Linked DNA regions of Homo sapiens: region 2 is linked to region 1. Evidence: promoter capture Hi-C in human tissues and cell types (Jung and others, 2019). All regions are on one chromosome and are shown on one strand. Each heading gives the region's core, a stretch centred on a gene start or on the middle of the fragment in contact. The rest is flanking DNA. Distances are from core to core; before and after follow the strand shown. Region 1 holds the start of TSPAN2 (tetraspanin 2). Region 2 has its middle 27 kb from the start of LINC01765.

The links. The method cuts DNA at HindIII sites, captures the fragments that hold promoters and counts their contacts. A contact is called where the count stands out against the background at its distance.
Region 2: a fragment that was not itself captured here is called in contact with the fragment with the promoter of TSPAN2 in region 1 in 1 of the 25 tissues and cell types used here (aorta).

What each region holds. Positions count from the first base shown.
Region 1 is chr1:115,086,038-115,091,845 of GRCh38, forward strand. It overlaps TSPAN2 (tetraspanin 2), which reads right to left and starts at 3,466. Exons shown (of 8, transcript NM_005725.6): 1 at 3,327-3,466. The coding sequence starts at 3,395. The HindIII fragment of the contact is 11,658 bases long and covers 1-5,808 here.
Region 2 is chr1:115,124,133-115,129,940 of GRCh38, forward strand. No RefSeq gene overlaps it. Among named protein-coding and RNA genes, the nearest start is that of LINC01765, 27 kb to the left of the region's middle. The HindIII fragment of the contact is 5,608 bases long and covers 1-5,149 here.

The DNA of each region.
Region 1 (5,808 bases), core at 2,216-4,715:
GGCAAGTCACTTGGCAAACTTATATACTATTCCCCACCAAGAAAGGAATCAGGAGAAAGAGAGCTAACATTTATTGAATGCTTCCTATGTGCCGATAACAAAAATAATAATTAATATTTTTGAGCATTTACTATGTCCTAGGCTCATAGGAAGTTGAGGTCACATACTTTATATATTCCCTCTTAATCCTCTCAATATTTCTGTTACTCCAATAGCACAGATGAGAAAACAAGCCTAGAAGTAACAATAACTTGCTCAAGTACACCCTGTTTGTGCAGGCACGCCCTGCTTGGGATCTCTGCACTCCAGCCTGATGGCTTCGACAGTCAGATGGTGGCGCACACTCCCCCTTGCTCTGCTCCTCTGCTGGTGGATGGTGCGTCACCCCCTCGCTTTGCCCAGCTCCATTCTACCAGTCCTTCCAGGTTTAGCTCGAATAGCTCCTTCTTAAGGAGAACTTTTCTGGCTCCTCATCATGACTGTGATCCTTTCTCTAAACTCCTTACTTAGATCACATATAGAGAAGGTCGGATCTAACCTCACTGGTTAACACATTCAAGCACTTAAAACTGCACTGCTCCTACTTCCTTTCCTTACTGTGCTTACGGTCAACAGTGTGAAACTTGTCACTTGATTCCACACTGTCTTATTTTTGTGTTGTTCCATATCCACTGGTCTCGTTTCCTCAATGAGATGAGCAGCTTAGGGAACTGTGTTTATATTTATAAATTATTATTTGTTTAATCATTGTTTAACAGAATGGGTCTCAAATTTGAGCATGGATCAGAATTATGTGAATGGCTTGTTAAATTAGATTGCTGGATCCTACCCCCAGAGTTTCTGATTCAGCAAGTCTGGGATGAGCTGAGAATTTTGTTTGTTTGTTTGTTTGTTTTTGAGATGGAGTTTCGCTCTTGTTGCCCAGGCTGGAGTGCAATGTGGCACCATCTCAGCTCACTGCAACCTCTGCCTCCCGGGTTCAAGAGATTCTTCTGCTTCAGCCTCCCAAGTAGCTGGGATTACAGGCACCCACCACCATGCCCGGCTAATTTTTGTACTTTAGTAGAGATGAGGTTTCATCATGTTGGCCAGGCTGGTCTCGAACTCCTGACCTCAGGTGATCCGCCTGCCTTGGCCTCCTAAAGTGCTGGGATTACAGGCATGAGCCACTGTGCCCGGCCTGAGAATTTGTATTTCTGACAAATTCCCAGGATATGCTGATGCTGCTGGCCCAGGAACCACTTTTGAGAACCACTGGTTAATTGAATGTACCACAGTGCTTAAGAGAAGGTAGGCGGCCAGGCGCGGTGGCTCACGCCTGTAATCTCAGCACTTTGGGAGGCTGAGGCAGGCAGATCATGAGGTCAGAAGATGGAGACCATCCTGGCTAACACGGTAAAATCCCGTCTGTACTAAAAATACAAAAAAACTAGCCAGACGTGGCGGAGGGTGCTTGTAGTCCCAGCTATTTGGGCGGCTGAGGCAGGAGAATGGCGTGCATCTGGGAGGTGGAGCTTGCAGTGAGTGGAGATCGGGCCACTGCACTCCAGCCTGGGCTACAGAGTGAGACTCCGTCTCAAAAAAAAAAAAAAAAAAAGAGAAGGTAGGCTGAGTTTGAATACCATCCCTGCCACTCACTAGCTGTGTGATCTTAGGTGACTTAACCAATTTGAGCCTGTTTCCTCATCTGTAAAAAATGGGGATAATAATAGTATATGTATATCAGGACTCTTGTGAGGATTATGTGTAATAATGAAAGTAATATGCTTAGCACTGTCCCTGACACATTGAAAACATTCAATGAATCCTTCCAGCTATCACTGGAAAGGCTGGTACAATATCAGCCACTAAATAAGCACTGAACCCAGCTTAAGAATTCCTCCTCAGGCTTAAAACTTCATAAGGCTTTGAATTCATAAGCAGTGAGAATGAAGGTTGTCACTGTGGCGTGACATCTATAATTAACAGCTTCTGAAATTAAGCCAGATTCCTAAAAAATACAACATAAAGGGTCTTCAGAAACGCCTCTCCCTATAGTATGCTTGATGTAAATCCCCACGTGTACAAAGGCCATGTGTCTCTTTAAAGTTCAGGGGATGTCGAGGAGGTACCTCCTTCACACCTTCCACTGCTGAAGGATACTGAAGAGCTTGGAGTTGCTGAAGTCACCCAGGCATCTGGGCTAATGGATTGACAGACAAAAGAGGAGCCCATCATTCAATAATTAATTAGTTGCAATCATGGGAAGACAACGTCCCCCAGAGCAGATAGGACAGCCACCTCCTCCAACCTGGTAGTTTCAAAGCACCCAGGCCCTGGCTGCTCTCAAACCTCTTTATCCAATGTTTCCCCTCAGGGTCTAGCTGAGCAGTTACACTGGCTGACATTCTCTTAAGAAAGCCCAAGAGGAAATGTGCAGAAAAGACAATTTTCAGACCTTGTCTCACAGTCCTGCAGGCCCTGGGACAGGGTATCCAGGGATGTAGGTCTGGTCTAGCTGTATCCCTGTCTCGATAATATAGGAGACAAGGGTCAAGATCCTATCTCTCTGTGAACCATGAATCCTGGGAACGCTGTCAGTTCAATCAAACCCTGCAAAGTTGAATGAGATCATCTCTGGGAGAATTAGTATTTAGCAGAGGCTGCGGCTGGGGGTTGTGGAGAGCTGCTGCTGCCCTTTAGAAGCCCTTCCATTCCCCATCCCCTTCTCAGAAGAGAACCCACCACCTCCTCTCACCCAGGGGTACTCTTACCCTGATGCCCAGAAAAAGGACGACGCCCCCCCACCACAATTTTCACTCCTATCTCCAATTTCCTAAACAAAACCATCACAGCCAGGTACAGTGTCCACACACTCGAATGGAGCACCACCCCAGGCAGCCCCAGGGCAGGGGTTTCTCTCCCATCACCCTGGCCAGGCCCTGGTTCCAGCTGGTAGGCAGAGTGAAAAGGGGGTGTGTGCACGGGAGACTGGAGGGGAACAGGGACCCAAGTCCTCCGGAGGTGAGGAGAGGCTGGGTCCCCGCACCTGGGGTCACTAGCTGGGAGATAAAAACCAAGGCAGGTGGGGGTTCCTTCCAGGAAAGAGCCACACGGTGTCTCTCCCCTTCTCACCATTTCTCATTGATCAACCTTCTGTCTTCCCGTTCTCTCCCTTCCATCCCTCCCCTCCCTCTTTGTTTGCCTTCTCCTCGCCTCCGCGTTTGAGCACCCAGCCCTCCCCACGAGCGCGACTCGGACGCCGCAGTCAGCAGCTCGGGGACCCCGGCCCCGCGCCCGCCACCCGGCCCCCTGCCCTGACCGGCCCTCCCGGCTCCTGGTCTCACCCAGAAGAGCAGGTTGAAGCCAAGCAGCAGGTACTTGATGCACCGCAGGCCCCCGCGGAAGCGCCCCATGCTGCGGCCCGGCGGCGGGATCCCCAGTCCCCAGGCCCGCGCTACGAGCGCGGGGAGCGGCAGGCTCCGGCGGGGAGGGGGCGGAGCGGGGAGGACCGGGGCGGGGCCTCCGGGGGGCGGGGCGGGGCCCGGCGGGGAGGGGCGCGTGGACCCCAAGCGGCGTGGCTGGCGACGGGTGGGGGCGCCAGCGGGTGGAGATCGAGCAGCCCGAGGGAGCACGTTCGCTCTTCTCCCGGACCCAGGGACCACCTTCCTTCCCTCCAGTGGGCGCACCGCCGCCGGCTATCGGAGCACCTGCAGGGCGGGAGCGCCCACCGGGGACTGGGGACCCATTTAATCAGCGCCCTGTGCGGAGACCGGTTTGAGGCCCGGGCGATGCTTGAGGGATAAGCACTTGGTCTCGTGGCTATGGAAATCTAGGAAGGTGACCTCGGGTAGAAGAGCTAAGTGGGGTCGGAGGTTGCCCCGAAGCTGGCAGGACCAGTCGCGGGGCACCTGACTGAGTGTCCAGGGCTGCGGCTCCGCGGCGCGGAGCAAGCACACAAGCAGCTTCTAGGGGACCCTCCCTCCGGCCCCTCCCCCCTCCTCGGGGGACTCTTACCTTAATAGGCAAGAACTGAGAGAGGGTGCGGGAGGCGGCGCCCTGAGTCCTGTGGGCTGCCCTCAACCCAGCCGGCCAGTGGAGGGAGTCTGACTTCTCATGTCCTGCCGGGTTCCACTGATCGGAGGGCTTGGAAGGATCCCAAATTTTCGGGATCTTAATTATGATGTGGAGATGGGAGAAAGGGGAAGGGGGCGGTTTTTGTTTTGCTTTGTTTTTATTAAGTTAGGCTGTTGGCAGGAAAATCAGACTCCCACTTCCATTGACTAAGTGTCTACAATATGTGGTGTCAGACAGTATGGGGGAGACAAGAAAGCAAAATTCGGAGAGCTTATGCATAAATTCAGCAAAACTTTGAGTGCCTATTATAGGCCAGACATAGTAGCAAGCCCCAGGGACTCAACAATGAGGAGACAGCCAGGCCCAGAACCACAGTCTCTGGTGTTGGAGACAGATCTGTAAGCAAATAGGGTGAGGAGAGAAGGGCTGGGTGCTAGACAGGTGTGCCTGGCCTGACTGCCTTAACCAGAAAAGGCATTGCTAAGGAGAGGGGCCTGATCTGGTCTAGAAGACGGAGCCCAGGCGGAAAAGATCAGTCCAGGAAGACAGCATGCGCAAAAGCACAGAGCTGGAGAGAACAAGGCCTCCAAGGGAGTTCTGAGAACCGCAGTTAGCCCGAGTGAAGCCTGGTGGGGGCAGAGTGAGTCAGGAAGGCAGGAGCCAAATCACAGCTTTCAGTCGGCTGACCAATGTGCCAAACTGTCATTGGCCCCGAGTGTCCCCACGTGCAACATGGAGGTAATAGTACTCCCCTCATAGAGTTGTGAAGATAAATGAGTTAGTATTTGTGAAGTGCCTAGAACAGTGCCTGGCACAGATTAAGTACTGCATAAGGGTTAGTATTATTGTATCACACTCTTATCAGTCAACCATTCAGTTTCTACCATGTTGCCATCTTTGCCTACCTCTGTGTCTTTGGACATTTGTTTGAATATCGACTCATTTATAAAAACGAGTCAAAGACAGAAAAATGAAAGTGCTGATTCTAGTAATAAACATGTCTCCAACAATGAAATAAAGACAAAGATGGAAGTCATTAGGTATGCAGAGAGAAGTGAATCATTAGCTTCAATCAAACACTTATAGTTCTATATCTGTCACCTCTGTTTTAGTATAAAGGAAAAGAACTAAGTTAAAGAGTAGTGTCTGGTACATAGAAGGCGTTCAGTAAATCAACTGAATGAACAATGATATTATACTTTAAATATATCGTTGAATTTTACATCTCTAAGACAAAATATGTCTAGAGATTATATAGAGGGAAGAGAACCCCTATTGTAACATATACATCTATTGTTTGTTTTTTTCATGCTACGATTTTAGCACACATGTATTAGAGACAGATGGTGGTTGCCTGTCCAACATAACAGTTTCAGATCTTTAGTATAGACTTGCCCAGTCGCCCTTTCACAAAGTTGTATGTCTTAAGGGAAGCTGACCCTTGAGAGGAATAGGCGAAGGTAATCCCATTTCCCTTGTAGTTAGTTCAGGAAACAAATTGACAAGCATCCTGACTAATGGGATGGGAGTGGTGTCTACTGAGGGGCCAGATGGTCTTCTTCCTCTTGAAGCTGTTGGATCTGGATGGTATACATAGAGTTGCTATATCCATCTTCATACCAGCCTGAGGAGAGATCCAACATTGAAAACAGCAAAGCAGGAAGTTGAAAAAACCAGAGTCATAGGTGATATTACGCCATAACTGAGTTAGCCATTTCTGAAGCCAATTGAGGTTTAGGTTTTTGTGTACAT
Region 2 (5,808 bases), core at 1,096-3,595, 37 kb after region 1:
GTACAAAAACTGAAATTAAAAATCACTAGAGAGTCTCACCAGCAAATATGAGCCAGCAAAAGAAAAAAATCAGCAAACTTGAAGGTAGGTTGAGATTATTCAATCTAAGTAATAGAAAGAAAAAAGAACTGTACCTCAGAGATGTGTGGGTTTCCATCAAACACACCAACATGTGCATAATGGGACTCACAGAGAGAGAGGAGAGAGAAAGGAACAGAAAGAATATTTAAAGAAATAATAGATAAAGACTTCCAAAAGCTGATGAAAAATAATCTTCCCATCCAAGAAACTCAATAAGCTTGAAGTAGGATAAACTCAAAGACATCTACATGCATTATCATCAAATTGCTAAAAGTCAAAGACAAAGAGAGATTAAAAGTTGTAACAGAAAAACAACTAATCATGCAAGGGCTCATTAATGAGACTAATAGCTAGCTTCATATCGGAAGGCAGTGAGATGACAAATTGAAAATCCTGAAAGAATGAGGCTGTCAATCATGAATTTTATATTAAGCAAAACTATCCTTCAAAAATGAAGGAGAGGTTGGGCACAGTGGCTCACGCCTGTAATCCCAGCACTTTGGGAGGCAGAGGTGGGTGGATCATGAGGTCAAGAGATTGAGACCATCCTGGCCAACATGGTGAAACCCCGTCTGTACTAAAAACAAAAAAATTAGCCAGATGTGGTGGTGTGCACCTGTAGTCCCAGCTACCCAGGAGGCTGAGGCAGGAGAATTGCTTGAACACAGGAGGTGGAGGTTGCAGTGAGCTGAGATAGTGCCACTACACTCCAGCCTGGTCACAGAGCAAGACTCTGTCTCAACAACAACAACAAAAAAAAAAAAAAAAAAAAGGGAGAAATGTAAACATTTCAAGATAAACAAAAAAATTAATGAAAAATAACTAGAATAACTTCTCTATGAGAAATACTAACAGGAGTTCTTTCAGGAGTTCTTTCAGGTTGAAATGAAAGAACTCTTGCAATAGCTTGACTCCATGTAAAGAAATGAAGAGCATTGTTGAAGGTTACTACATAGGTAAATTTTTAGCTACACTGACCAAGAAAAAAAGGGAAGAGCCAAGTTTCTAAACTCAGGAATGAAAGAGGGGACATCACCACTGACCTTACACAAATAAAAAGGATTTTAAGGGAATACTTTAAACAATTATATGCCAACAAATCAGATAACTAAATGAAATGGGAAAATTCCTAGAAAGACACAAACTACTGAAATGACTCAACAATAAATACAGAATCTAAATAAACCTATAGCAAGTGTTAAGGACTGAATGTTTGTATTCTCCCCAAATTTGTATGTTGAAGCCCTAAACCCCAGTGTGTTGACATTTGGAGGTAGGACCTTTGGGAGGTATTAGGTTTGGGTGAGGTCATGAGCATGGAGCCCCTAAGATGATATTAGTACTCTTATAAGGAGATGAAGGGACCAACACTCACTTTCTGCCACATCATGTGAATATACAAGAAGGGATCTATCTGCCAACTAGAAAGAGGGTCTTCACCAGGAACCAAATCAGCTGGCACTTGATCTTAGACTTCCCAGTCCCCAGAAGTGTGAGAAATGTTTGTTATTTAAGCCATACCACCTATGGCATTTTTGTTATAGCAGCCCAAGCTAACTAAAGATAGCAAGTAAGGAGATTGAATAAGTAGGTAGACTGCTTAAATGTCTGCCTCCTTCCCTTAGAGGGAGCACCCCAGGAAAGCAAGATAAAAGTGCACAGCATTTTTTGACTTAGCCTTGGAGATGACACAACATAAGCTCCTTCATACTGATAGAGGCAGTCACAAAGGCCTGCACAGATTCAAGGAGAAGACATAGACCCTTTACTTTAATGTGAGAAGTATTAAAGTCATTTGGCAAGATGAGCTTATAAGTGGGAAATATTGTTGAGGTCATCTTTGGAAAATACCGTCTGCCACAGCAGGCATATATATGTAAACTATATTTAAAAAGAAGGTTGTGGTTAGCTCTTTAGGAGAGAAGAGGCAGAAGGAGAGGATGGGAAGGAGTACATGTGTGTTTTGATTAGCGGTCTAGTTCTGGAATGGGTGGTGAGCAAGGTCATCTAGTATCACTGTACAGGCTGGGATTCGAATAACTCCAGGAACCATTATGAATTACAATGTGAGTGGGACTCCTAGAACTGTGCAATATGGCCACACTGCCGGTGGTTCACAGATGCTTATTATAATATAATTTAATATATTATCTGAAAGTAACAAGTAATAGAAAATAAATACACAAAAGGAAAAATAAATACAGAAATTAAAAGAGGACAAATAATAGTTTTAATCAATGAAATAGTCAATGGCATTTTGGGGGCACCCTGGAGCCACTTCCTGGGAGTGTTCCAGAGATACAAGGGCTGTCTTCAGAGAGATTAATGCCTTACCACAGTAGATTGCACTGGAGTGCTGCTTGGCTCGTAACCATTCTTTCTCTTCTGGGACCAGCAGAGGTGGGTTCCAGGTGACCCTGTCTGTGCTTCATGGTCTGTGCTTTCAGAGAATGCCCTGACCTCATGGTCATAGGGATGGCCATCTGACCAAGTTAGGCATATTAATTATTTCTCAAAATTTGTCCAAGCTGGAATTGAGAAAAGGGATTCAGCCTCTCTCTGGCACTGGAAGCCAAAAGCCGTGAGGCTCTGCAGTCCTTGGCCACCAGGTAACTTCCCAAGGAGATGGTCAGTCAGCAGAAGGGAATGAGGCAGCAGGCAGAGAAAAGCCAGGGCAGGAAGACAATGGTGAGCTGGTCCAGTTGAATTCAGCTACATTCTTGTACTCCCTTTGGTTGCTTTCTCTTTTGTCCTGGCCTAAAGAGAAAGCTGGGTTTCTGTTGCTTCCCATCACAAGGTTAAGAAGAATGCATACACACCCTGTCTGCAGAATAGCTCTACATAGCCATGGTTCAACATGCAGATTTAAAAGTGAACACCTAAGTGCTCAAGAGTTTCTAAAAAGAAAAGTGAGCATTTGAAATCCATCTGAGTAGCCCAAATGCATTCATTCATTTATTTACTTTATTCAGTCTTTAAACCAACACCTATTAAGCACCTTTTGTGTGCTAGGTTCTTCTGAGTCCAGGCTATTCATAGTTGGGCAAACCTCCATGGTACTCATGAAGCTTATAGTCTAGTGCAGAGGCAAACATTAAACCAAATTATCCAACATGTAAATGTGTAATTATAAATTCTGATAAGTGCTTGGAAGGAAAAGAATATGATGCTATGGGAAAATAATGGGATGGGCAGAGTTAAGAGTGGGCAGTCAGGAAGGACTCTCTGAGCAAGGGATACTTAAGCCAAAACCAAGATGGGGAAAAAGTCAGCCAGGTGAGAAATGTTATTAAGTTCATGCTCGGCACAGGGAACAGCATGTGCAAAGCTGTGAAGGAGAAAATGATAATAATAAAAACACAGTGCTTGCTATAAGCCAGGCATTCTTAGAATGAATCCTCACAACAATCCTGTGAAGTAAATACCATCATTAAGTCTCTTTTTTTCTTTCAGAATTGGAATCTAGGGCACAGAGAGGTTAAGTAATGTGCCCAAGGTCACACAGCTAAGTAGTAGAGCTGTGGCTCACATCTAGGAGGAGGCCATTGTGGCTGGAGCTGGTGGGTGATGGCAAGAATGGCAGATCAGGCTGGAGCTGTGTGGAAGGTCTGCGTCATGTCCAGCCTTGTAGGCCATGGAAGAGAGTTTGAATTTTATTCTATATAACCATGAAAAACAATAAAACATATTTAATCAGAAAAGTGCATGATATGTATATTTTGAAAAGCCAGTGATGGCATTTTAAAAATTCTATTTTGTGATTATGAAACTTCCGTATGCTCATTTGGAAAACACAGAAAAGCACCAAGCGGAAAATAAAAATCACCTCTAATGCCACACCCTGCAAACAACAGATAGTCACTGTTAACCTCAGAATATAGTCTTCCAATCATTGATAAGTATTTGCATTATAGCATAGTTAGAATTATGCTGCACCTATTGTTTTGTCAACTGCCATCTAAGAGATATACAGTATCATATGGTAGTTTTGATCCAAGATTTTTCAGGAAGAAATGTACATTAGTGATGTGGGGTGTGGGATGGGAGGACAGAAAGAAGCTCTTGTTTCAGAAGAATTAGTCCAGCAGGAAGACAGGTCGTGTCTGGGACATGGGTTTAGGTTGTCACTTTGGAAATCTGCTTTTGAGCCACATGTGAGCTCTCTGAAGATTCCATTTTCTCTGAGTTCTCCAAGGCAGAGACTAGCGCCAACACCTCTCCTTCCCCTGTAGGACGTACCCACACAAAGCAGCTGTCCTGTGCCACTCAGGCTGAGGAGAGATTGTCCTGCTGTGCCTCTCTTGTACCCATCTTCCTTCTGCCTTCAGGAAGTCATAAATCTGAGATGAGGGGATGGGTAGGTTACAGGCCTCAGATAGCTCCACCTGTTCATACATACAATAAATCACCAGCTTTGTCTCAGGCACGGCCACAAGCACTTTTTACACGCGTTATTTCAGTGAATCCTCCTACAGCCTCTGAGTAAGTGGTATTACTCCTCACCTTCACTGGTGAGGAAACTGAAGCCAGAGAAAGAACAACAGCTGGAAAGTGGCAGAGCCATCGCTTCTGGGCTTTTTGGTTAAGATCAAATGTAAGTGGCAGAACCAGTGGAACTTGAGCATGTCAGACCCAAATTCCATGTGTTTAACTGCTTCTTCATACAGAATATGTCCCTTGAAACCCTTTCACATTTTTCTGCTTTGTTGGAGGCAAATGTTCATTACTTTCCATCTGACCCTAGGATTGCACTGGACTGAAGGATGGCCACAAATTATAGGTGAAGCTGACCAGCCCCAAAGATTGGGATATTAAAGACACATGAATAATGGGCAGGTGCTTGGAGGGTAGATAGCCAAGTGCTGGAAACCCAGGCTTGAACTACCGTGCAGACCCCCTGAAGAGAGGAAGCTGGACCACTTTGTGCTCTAAGGTCAGGGCGAAGGTCTGAATCCTCCCACATCCATCATGGCCTCTGCCACAGCTGGATCAGGCTGGAATAACTTCCCTAAAGCTGGCTGGGAAAATCCCCAGGATGCCAGGCCACCAGGCAGCACTCCCAGGGAAGCTGACCCTGCTGCTGCCCCTCCCTTCCATTGATGGAAAAGTACAGGCAGCGCTGGTGCCCCTCAAGCCTTCAGGCAAATGTCTGGCTGCCCTCTAGACTCACCAACTGCAAGTAATGACGCTTTTGTCCTTGGTCCAAGGCTGAAGGAAAATAGTTTCCCAAAAAAGCAGTTAAAAAATGTGGAAAATATCCACAATCCAAGTGTCTGCACAGAGTGGGGTGGGAAGTCTCCTCCTAGACAGGCTTGCAGCTGAAGATTCTGCGGTCCTCCTGCGAAGAGGCAGGGAAGGAATGTGAAACCCTATCACTTGGGGGGCAATGCACAGTATGGCTTTCACTTTCTGGCCACTCTGGGAATGGGTCAGGGCTACAGATCATGCTGGAGAATCGCAGCCTCCTGAGAGTCAGCTCCACATACTGGAAGTTCAGCACATGCATGAGTCAGGATACCTGTCTGATCCCCTGGGGAGCTCAATGGAGACCTGGAACACACAACTATTTCCTCATGGACGCTAAGGTCTCTCAGGCCTTCCAGTTCTAACCTACTCTTTATTATCCCGCCTTCTCTTCCCACCTCATGTAGTAATTCACAGGTTTACTTATGATCTTATTTGACACTTGGCAGCAAATGAGGAAGTGAGGTATAATAGATGGGTATT